3 separate regions of the Homo sapiens genome follow, and all the other regions are linked to region 2. Evidence: promoter capture Hi-C in 16 types of primary human blood cells and fetal thymus (Javierre and others, 2016). All regions are on one chromosome and are shown on one strand. Each heading gives the region's core, a stretch centred on a gene start or on the middle of the fragment in contact. The rest is flanking DNA. Distances are from core to core; before and after follow the strand shown. Region 1 overlaps DOCK5 (dedicator of cytokinesis 5). Region 2 holds the start of DOCK5 (dedicator of cytokinesis 5). Region 3 overlaps DOCK5 (dedicator of cytokinesis 5).

Region 1 (3,091 bases), core at 25-2,524, 230 kb before region 2:
ACTAACTTGCACTCACATTCCAAACTACCTTGGAAGAAAAAAAAAGTATGAGTAATGCTCTTAGAGAGTTCCAGTTCCTACTCAGGCCTAGCAGAGGAAAGCAGGGACCATCAGGTGAGTACCTCTTCTTTCCCATATTTCATCTCATTGAAACCTCACAACAACCGATGCAGGAGGCATTATCCCCATTCTGGAAGGTGAGAAAATGAAAACTCAGATAATTTCAAATAATTTTTGTGAGTTTGCAAAGTTAACAGATGTCATAACTGGGATTTGAAACCAAATGGGTTTAATTCCACCAAATGGGTTTAATTCCAAAGCCCATGATTCTTCCATGCTAGCACAATGCAGGTTTTCCTGGGTGGGGGTAAAGGATCACCTTTTCCACACCCCTTCCAGAATCTGCATACTCATTTCTTAAGTAACGCCCTGGACACATCTGAGAGCTTTTGCTTCCCTGACCCTCATGATGAACTGGTGTAGTTCTCTCCTGAAAGGGTGGCGGTGAAACAGGAAACACAGAGAATCAGGCAGGCAAATACCAGCTCTGGCAGCAGAAATGGAAATCTCTTTCTCTGTTCTCTTCACCTCCTTAGTGGAAAGGACTCTGGGCAAGGTTGTGGGAGAGACCACCAGCAAGTTTCCCCCAGTGCTGACCTCTGCCTTCACAGTCAAAAAGCTTTCTGCTTTGCCACAAATATCTAAGTAGCATAGAAATATCTGGGACATTTCAAATATTGTTCCAACCAGGGGTAAATATTAAAGAGTCTGTCAGAGTTGTCTTCTAGAGATTACCTAGGTATAGCCTAATTTAGCAAGCTGGGTTATTAGTAATAATCTGTAGCACAATTTTCTGTGTGTAGCCTCAATTTCCTTATTTACTAAATAAGGGGACTGGTTGGTTGATCTTTGAGGCTTCAAGTCCAAACGTCTAAAACTTCATGTGGCTATTTATGTATGTAATATTTGGTCACCTAAATCGCTCCATTTTTTCTTCTGAAAGGAGTACTACTAGTACCATTAGCAAGCAATCAAATTAATTCCACAATCAAGAGGAATAAATAATCAAAGAGAAATATTGCACTGTATTCTCCAGGATAAAATCAGGTAGCAGATGCGGCTGCTGAGTCACCCAAATGGGTTTTAGAAAAGAAACTGCTGAATCCAGACTGGTAAGTCCCTTGTAGCCAGTGATTTGCGCTCAGAGGAGGTAATAGGACAAAAAAAAAAAAAAAAAAAAAAAGCCGTATGTGCAAAAGGAAGAGCTTCAAAGAAGTCCGTAGGGAAGGAGTGACTGCGACGCAGTGAAGGCCATTAGTCAGGAGTGTGGTGGGAGAGGGAGAGGGCAGCTTTCCTGTGCCACAAGAAGATGGGAGTTGGGTGGACTCAAGAACTCAGGGCTGATGTTTGAGTCCATGCTCTTTCAATGATAGACACACATACCTGAAAGCAGCCAATCTCCATTAAAAATGTGTGTTCTTTTCCTCAAAGGAGATACAATAGACATCAGAAAGATATGATTATTTCAGCTACCAAAGTGTACTTGATATCCATCTCTTCCAAGATGCAATATGGGATGGGATCAGTGTGTCCACGTGAGAAAAGTACCTAAGTCTCAAGCACAGCTTTTCATAAGCAAAGCAAAAAATCCTTCCAAGGAGTAGATTACAGGGGTTGCTCCACCATCAATATGGAAGAACTTGTCCAGGCTTGTGCAGACCACCATGTCTCTGCCGTACAGGCTGACATTTAACAATGGTGAAGGCAATCTCTTCTTGGAAAAAATCAGAGGCTGTGACTGATTCTGGAATTCCATGTGGACTGGAAGGGAGGTGGCATGGCCTCAAAATTCTATCAAAGAGAAGCTTTTGGAAGAACATGACTGGTTTTGGGCTGGTAAACATCATCCCAGATCAGGAAATGCAGTCAGCAGGGAGCCCCATGGAATGAGGACACCGGCTGGAGGCCAGTTCTCAGGCAGCAGCTGTCTAAGGCACTCGGTGTTGCAGGGAGGGCAAGATCCTTACTGGGATCCAGGCTCGGAAGTAGGGATGCCAGACTTCCGAGCCTTTGGAGGTGGAGGGGGTGGTGCTTTGGCTTCTCTTCGGACAGGCAGTGGGGGAGCGAGCTGCAGAAGCAGAAACACAAAATTAGAAGCAGGTCTTAGCTTTCTTCCCAATTCTGCCTTCTCCTCCTATTTCTCATATTCTGCTTTAGCTTCTAATTGATCTGAGTTTATCTACACAGGCTTTGCAAAGTGAAATGGAAAACTACACTGACTTATCCTCCTTGTTTCCCATGAGCTAATCAGACACACGCGTGCGTGCGTGCGTGCGTGCGCGCGCGCGCACACACACACACACACACACACACACACACACATTTTCTCTCTCTCTCTCGCTGCCATATCCCCAACACTTGGGTTCCTGGCGTATAGACAGGAGGCACTTAAAAGTCATTTGTTAAATGACTGAAGGAAACCCATCTGAGGTCACTCCAGAATGACTGTCCTTTATTCAGAAGAAGTAAACTCTTCAAATGTGAAATAGAGGGCTGGGGGCAGGCAGTGGCTCACATCTGTAATCTCAGCACTTTGGAAGGCTGAGGTGGGTGGGGGGGATCACTTGAGGCCAGGAGTTTGAGATCAGCCTGGGCAATATGGAGAGACCCCATTTCAACAAAAGATTAAAAAATTAGCTGGGCATGGTGGCACATGCCTGTAGTCCCAGCTAATTGAGAGGCCAAGGTAGGAGAATCACTTGAGCCCAGGAGTTTGAGGCTGCAGTGAGCTATGATCGCACTATTGCACTCCAGCCTGGGTGACAGAGCCAGACCCTGCCCCCGCCCCCCTAAAAAGGTGAACTAGAACTCACGGCTTATTTCACAGGTACCCAGGACGAGGTACAGAGAACACCTGCCTCTACCTTCATCATCTGCTTGCATGTCTGTCCTTCCCATTGAAAACTTCTCTATCTCCTGTGGTTTCAGGAATGAGCCAAGAATCGACTGCAGTGACAGGTCTATGAGCAAACCTGCCCACTAAAGAGCCTGGAAAACCTGATGCTGCCTTCCCAGGAGTGGCGCTCCCTGG
Region 2 (3,267 bases), core at 706-3,205:
ACTTTGGGAGGCCGAGGCAGGCGGATCACCTGAGGTCAGGAGTTTGAGACCAGCCTGGCCCAGATGGCGAAACCTGGTTTCTACTAAAAATACAAAAATTAGTCAGGTGTAGTGATGCAAGCCCGTAATCCCAGCTACTCGGGGAGGGGGGCTGAGACAGGAGAATTGCTGGAACCTAGAGGTGGAGCTTGCAGTGAGCCGAGATTGCGCCACTGCACTCCGGCCTGGGCGACAGAGTGAGACTCCCTCGTCAGTCCGTCTCAAAAACAAACAAACCAAAAAAAAAAAAAAAAAGAGCCCTGAGGCAGAAGCAACATCTCTACCCATTTCTGAGATGCAGCTAAGGGAGAGACTAAGATTCTAAAAGCAACTTAAGAGCAAAAAAGAAAATGTCTTTTGAATTGAGGGAAAACAAAAAATAATAAATATATAAAGGATCACAACCTAAGAATAATATAGTAAATATGAGACTGTTAAAAAACAAAACAAACAACAACAAAAAACCCTGACTCCTGGCTACAGAGTTGAAAAGCCCCTAGACACGTTGAGTAGCTCTTAATTGAGACTGCACTTCATTAACCAGTGAGGTGAGGAAAAACAGGACCTCAGTAAGGGAGTAAAGTCAAAGACTAAATTACAAACAGGCCAAATGAATGGATCTGAGAGGAAGTGATAAAATTCGCAACACACTCAGCCGTGTTTATTGTAGGGAATCACCCCAGGTCTAACTGCCATTGTAATCACCCCGTTCAGGGCAGAAGTCTTCCCACAGGCCCTCAATAACTTCAATCCTTGATAAAAAGCCAAAGGAGCCTGACTTTCCACCTGGGTCAAAATCCCCGCACATCTATTGTTTCGGAGCCAAAGCACCACCACCAGCAACCCCTGCGCACAACCCGGGGCTCTCCAGCACCGCTGTTCTGAATGCCAAGTGCCCAGCACGGGGTCTGGCACAGTTTCCTTAATAAAATGTCCTCTTCTCGTCTCCAGGATGAAACTCAGGATCCGGAAGGCAGCCTTACACCCTCTCCAGACAGGCTCCGTTAGGGGATGAGTGCGCACAAACAGCCCCAGGGGCCAGCCACCCCCTTCCCGTGCCACAACTTCCTGTCCCTTCCATCACTTCCACGCCACGACTCTAGTTTCCATCCAGCTCACAACTGTCATCAAGATCCCAGTCTCTGGAGGAAAGGGGGCAGGGCGGCTTTCCACCCTCAACTCCTCACTTAAGGGGCGTCTGAGAAGAACCTACGAAAGCGGGGGGCAGAAAGCACTGGGACAATGAGCACCAGTCCATGTGCCGACCCGGGCTGGTCACCTACTCCCAGGTGAAACCCACGCTGGGCGCACCGGGGCGAGCCACAGAGCTGCGGCCCCAAAAGAGCAGCAGGCGCGCCCCCCTCGCGTTGACATTTCCCTGGTGTGAAGTGCCGGAGATTGGGATGCAAGAGCGGGATTACGGTCCCGAAGCTCAGCTGCACTTGGAAGCACTCGGAGTCCCCAAACCCTGGGCGACTTCCCCATCGGCGCTCCCTGGAGAGGACTCCTACCGTCCCCGGCTCCCAGAGCTGCGCAGCCGGGCCGAGCCCCCGGCCAGGGTCCTCCGCCGGGCTCTGCGCAAACCTGGCAGGGCCGCTGTCCGCGAACTTGGCCGCGTGGGTCGGGCCGGGACAAGGTGGGGCGCGCACTCACCAACCCCGTACTTCTGCCTCTTGGTCGGGATCCAGCGGGCCATGGCGGCGACCTCGCCCCGCGGCGGCGGCGACTAAGGCTGCTACAGCTCCTCGGGCTCCGGCCGCCGCCGCCCCGCGCTCCTGCGTGCCCCAGACGCTTCCGCCATGTTCCGCCAAACTTCGCTGGACTCCGCGGGCCGCCTCCTCGCCGCGCCGCCCGCGCCCGTGCCCGTGCCCGCGCCGCCCGCGGTCACCTGCTGGGCCGGGCTGCAGCGCAGCAGTGCGCGCCCCTCCTGGCGCCGCCCCAGTCCCTCCCGCCGGCCGCACCCTCCGCCCGCCGGGGCCGCCTCCGAGCCGCGGGCGCCCGGCCTCTCCCGCCCGCGCCGCTCTCTGCGCTCTGCCGGGCGGGGGCCGACTGCGGCTCCGCCTCGCGCGCTTCCCTGGAGCGGCTTCCTGGGCCGGCGGGACTTTGACGCTGGCGGCACTTTGCCTTTCTCCCGCCCTCCCCACCCGGCTGATACCCCGGAGGCTGGGTCCCGGGGGTCCGGCTCCCGACAGAGGGCTGCGCTGGAGGAGCCGGGCACGCCCAGGCCGGGCGGCCGGTGGGCGAGGGATGCGGGCTGCGCTCCCACGGCGCGCGCCGGACACTTGGGGAGCGGAAACGGATCAGCGAGAGCGGCTTCTTGCTCGGGGCACCTCCGGTGCCTGGCACTAAGCGGGCGCGCAATAAATATTTGTTGAATGAATGAGCAGTTGACTTCTGCCTTCACCCCCTGGAGCTTGAACCCGCGCCGCGAGCGGGAGAAGCCGGACTCAGGGCAGACTGAATCTCCCGGGGCCACCGCTTAGAGCCTGGAAAGCAGAACTTTTATCACCGGAGAGCTGGTGCAAGGGAGGTGGGCTCCTCAGAAGTATCAGACCGTTTGCTAGGGGATCCTCTGCAGGGAAATTGTTTAGAAAGCCCTAATTTGGAAGTCCTGTATCCCCAAACTCCGGGGACCCCCCAACCTTAAGCTGAAGAAACTTAGACCCTCATGCCCAGACCTCCCTTTCCCAACCAGCCAGCAGCCCAGAGAGCATTCCCGTGGAGAAAGGGCCAAGGCGCATCCCCGTCTTTTCTCCGTCAACGACTGCCTTTTCTTGACGAAGATCCCAAAGGGGCTGCGCATTTGAACCGCCTTGGGCTCCAGGTGGCGCCCTCTCTGGAGCTCCCCTCTTGGAATTCATTTCTTCCTGGAGAGACTTGGAGAATGAAGATCCAGGGGTTTCTCCCTACCTTGTACCGAGAAGTAACATTGCAAGTAGAGTAAATGACCAGCTTAATTACGTTCACCTTCGAAGAAGATTCCTCTAGAGAGAAATTATATCCTCCTTGCAGCCTGTGAAGGTTTTCATGCGTTTTAGGAATATAAAAGAAAGGAAGACAAACATGTAGTAAAGATAGTAAAGACAGGTAGTTGGCCAGGCGTGGTGGCTCATGCCTGTAATCTCAGCACTTTGGGAGGCCGAGGCGGGTGGATCACCTGAGGTCACGAGTTCCAGACCAGCCTGGCCAACATGGTGAAACCCCTTCTCTACTAAAATACAAAAGTTA
Region 3 (3,170 bases), core at 464-2,963, 180 kb before region 2:
AGGGCATTTTAATGCAATGTCTGAGACCTGGCTTTCTCTGCTGAAATGGCAGGGAGGTGGAGCAACTGTGCTGAAGGAGTGTGCTTTGTGAAGCGCTATGAATGAGGAGGTACTATGCCTGCAATTTGGGGAAGCTGCCAGCAGAGGCGCAGCTGTTCTTGGGGATGGGCAAGCTGACAGCCAAGGTCCGTCTCCAGGTACAGATTTGATAAAAAGCATGGGATGACTGATGGGAAGATGGTTGGGCCTTAAGAAAAGAGAGCTGAACCTGGGTGAATGTGAGGCCTATTAAGTAATTAGTTGAAGACTTACCTCACTAACAACATGGGTAGCCACTAAATAGTAATTTCTGTGATACCTAAAATATTGCTCTCAATGTAAACAAATGGAAGAAGCCCCTTCCCGATCTTAACTTTAAAAGGACACTTACTTTTTAACAATTTTGTTGCGCTTGGCTTGTGAGAAGGTTTCAAGCTGAAGGGACTCATGGGTGAGAAATGCAACTGCCAAATGGAAGTAATTGTTCCAGAGCTGTTCAAAATTAATTGTGTGGGTAAAGGGAAATGAAAAATAACATTAATAAGGGCCATAATAAAACAATGTCACATGGTAAAAAGTCATTAACAAGAGATTAATGAAAGAACAAAATACAATCTACATTCTTCTTAGGTTTTGATTATTCAATCCTAAAAGTTTTGAGACTTAATGTTAAGCTTTTTAAAAAAATTTAAGCTATTATATTTTTCTTTACTCCTGGGATAAAGGAAAACTGCTGCCAAGAAGTGTATCTATTTATAGTATGTACTTTGGCACTATGTTTCAAAAGTCCTAAAAGTTTGCCAAACTTTTGAATTAGTAAACACTTTTAGGACTTTATCCTGATGAAATAACCATGAATTTTGTTGTTGTTGTTTGATCCAGAGTCTCACTCTGTTGCCCAGGCTGGAGTACAGTGGTACAATCTCGGCTCACTGCAACCTCCGCCTCCCAGGTTCAAGCGTCCTGCCTTATCCTGACGAGTATCTGGGATTACAGGCACCCACTACCAGGCCTAGCTAGTTTTTGCATTTTTAGTAGAGATGGAGTTTCGCCATGTTGGCCAGGCTGGTCTTAAACTCCTGACCTCAGGTGATCTGCCCGCCTTGGCCTCCCAAAGTGCTGAGACTATAGGCGTGAGCCACCGTGCCCAGCCAAGCACGAATATTTTTAAATATTTAAAGGAAGGAAGTCCATCACAGTGTTATTTAATATAATAGAAAATGGAAACAATCTAAATGTTCGTAAGAAGAATTTGGTTAAATACATCATGGACCAGTCATAGAACAGATGATATTCAGCCATTAAAAACAGGAAAATATTCAACATTATTGAAAAGATCACAGATCATTGAAAAAGGAAAACAGATTAACAGAGTACCAAAGAACTGCACAGCTCAATTCCATTTTGGCAAATATACATACACATACATACAATATATATTCATCTATATGTGCATGCATCTCTGTGTGTGTATGTGTGTATACTTTCCTCTACTTATGATTTTCAACTTTTAAAGTTCTGAGGCAGGAAAACAGGGCCTGGAGGCAGGGCACTGAAGGCCAATTCACACTGACTTCCTAGAACTGAATCAAAAGGAAAACCCCACCTCTCCACACCCAAGTAACAAAAGGATCAGAGGCTACCCCTTTGCACTCTGTGGCAGATGAAAAATTGAAAGTACCTCTGATTAGTCCCCTCCCACAATTGGTGGGAGGGTCAGACTGGTCACATGCTACTCCTTCATTTACATAGGGTGTAACCAAGTAACCAATGGGAAAACTTCTACAGGGTATTTAAACGCCAGAAAATTCTGTAACCAGTGCTCTTGAGCTACTTGCTTGAGCCTGCTCCCACTCTGTGGAGTATACTTTCATTTCAATAAATCTGGCTTTTATTGCTTCATTCTTTCATTGCTTTGTTTGTGCATTTTGTTCAAAACGTCAAGAACTTGGACAATCTGTAGTCAAGGACCTCCACTGATAACAGTTCCACAGATACACGCAAAGACAAAGAACACAGAAAGCACATCACCCACAAAATGCAGAGTACTCTGGAAGGTAAGCTCCATGACAGCAAGGAACTTATCTGCCTTCACCAGGGAAATGCCCCTACCAGGGCGCAAAACAGGGCCCTGTACATGTAAGTACTCTAACATTTGTTAAATGGATGAATGGATAAGTAAATGAATGAATGAATGAAAATAGAGCTAGCGGTCATCCGTTTTGCAATTCCTTTGGACTTTCAACAAACTGTGCATAAGAACTGTTCTTTAGAACCAAACTCATTTGTCGGTAGGAGAGTTACCTGTGTGCTTATTTGTAGCCATGTGTGTCTATGTGCATTTGTGTAAATATACAAAGGGTCAACTCCAAATGTTTATAGCGACAAGGAGGACTATTTATATTTTTGATCTTCTACTATTACTCTTTAAGATTTTTTTTTTACATATGTTACCTTTATAGAAAGAAGAAACCACCCCTATTTTGTTGTGTTTGGAGGACAGTGTGACAGGCATATGTGCTTTAGGAAATGAAAAAACACAGGAAAACCTTTTTCATGTGAAAACAGTGAAATCTGAGGAGACATTTTCCAAATTCATATAGTTCTCTTGCCATGGCCAAGAATTCTAGAAGCAGGTAGGTGAGTCACATGCCTACCTGAAGTTCAAAGCTTGCCTGATCCATGAAGAATCTTGTGAGAACTTCAGCAAACTGATTTATAGCACGGAGAAAAACCCTGCGGAAGGAAAACACCAGATAAAGAAGCCAACTGTATGTCCTTTGAAACCTTTTCCCACCTATATTAAGAACTAAACCAAACCAAACCTGAACTTGGCATCATAAGACCTCATAATCTAACAGTGTCCTTGCAGACAACAGCATAACACCATCCGCAGATGGGGCACAGGAGGTCAGTTTACAGAACAAACAAGAAGAGCCACTCAGGGCCACATCCCAATTTAGGTAATTGAAGGTAGATCTGAGACTGCAAACCAGGACTCTTAAGCCTCAGAGGAGGGTAATATATATAGACTCTATTATGATCCTTCTGTTTAAGCTTAGGGTTTCTGGTGTAATTTTTTAAATCTAATCTGTACATAGCAGAGAAGGCTTCTTCTAATCAGGTGTTAG

What was found. Contacts are between HindIII fragments. The CHiCAGO score rates a contact against its expected background, and 5 or more counts as called.
Region 1: a contact is called between a fragment that was not itself captured here and the fragment with the promoter of DOCK5 in region 2, in 1 of 17 cell types (neutrophils). The highest score is 7.8, in neutrophils.
Region 3: a fragment that was not itself captured here is called in contact with the fragment with the promoter of DOCK5 in region 2 in 1 of 17 cell types (neutrophils); the score reaches 6.3 in neutrophils.

What each region holds. Positions count from the first base shown.
Region 1 is chr8:25,410,231-25,413,321 of GRCh38, reverse strand. DOCK5 (dedicator of cytokinesis 5) reads right to left here. Exons shown (of 52, transcript NM_024940.8): 52 at 1-2,128. The coding sequence ends at 2,024. Among named protein-coding and RNA genes, the nearest start is that of GNRH1, 12 kb to the left of the region's middle. The HindIII fragment of the contact is 1,186 bases long and covers 682-1,867 here.
Region 2 is chr8:25,183,377-25,186,643 of GRCh38, reverse strand. It overlaps DOCK5 (dedicator of cytokinesis 5), which reads right to left and starts at 1,955. Exons shown (of 52, transcript NM_024940.8): 1 at 1,693-1,955. The coding sequence starts at 1,735. LOC124901912 (a long non-coding RNA gene) reads left to right here and starts at 2,267. Exons shown (of 2, transcript XR_007060861.1): 1 at 2,267-3,267. RefSeq lists silencers at 1,658-1,707, 1,878-2,047, 2,058-2,137. The HindIII fragment of the contact is 10,671 bases long and covers 1-3,267 here.
Region 3 is chr8:25,364,231-25,367,400 of GRCh38, reverse strand. DOCK5 (dedicator of cytokinesis 5) reads right to left here. Exons shown (of 52, transcript NM_024940.8): 30 at 2,697-2,775; 31 at 431-531. Among named protein-coding and RNA genes, the nearest start is that of MIR6876, 20 kb to the right of the region's middle. The HindIII fragment of the contact is 1,996 bases long and covers 716-2,711 here.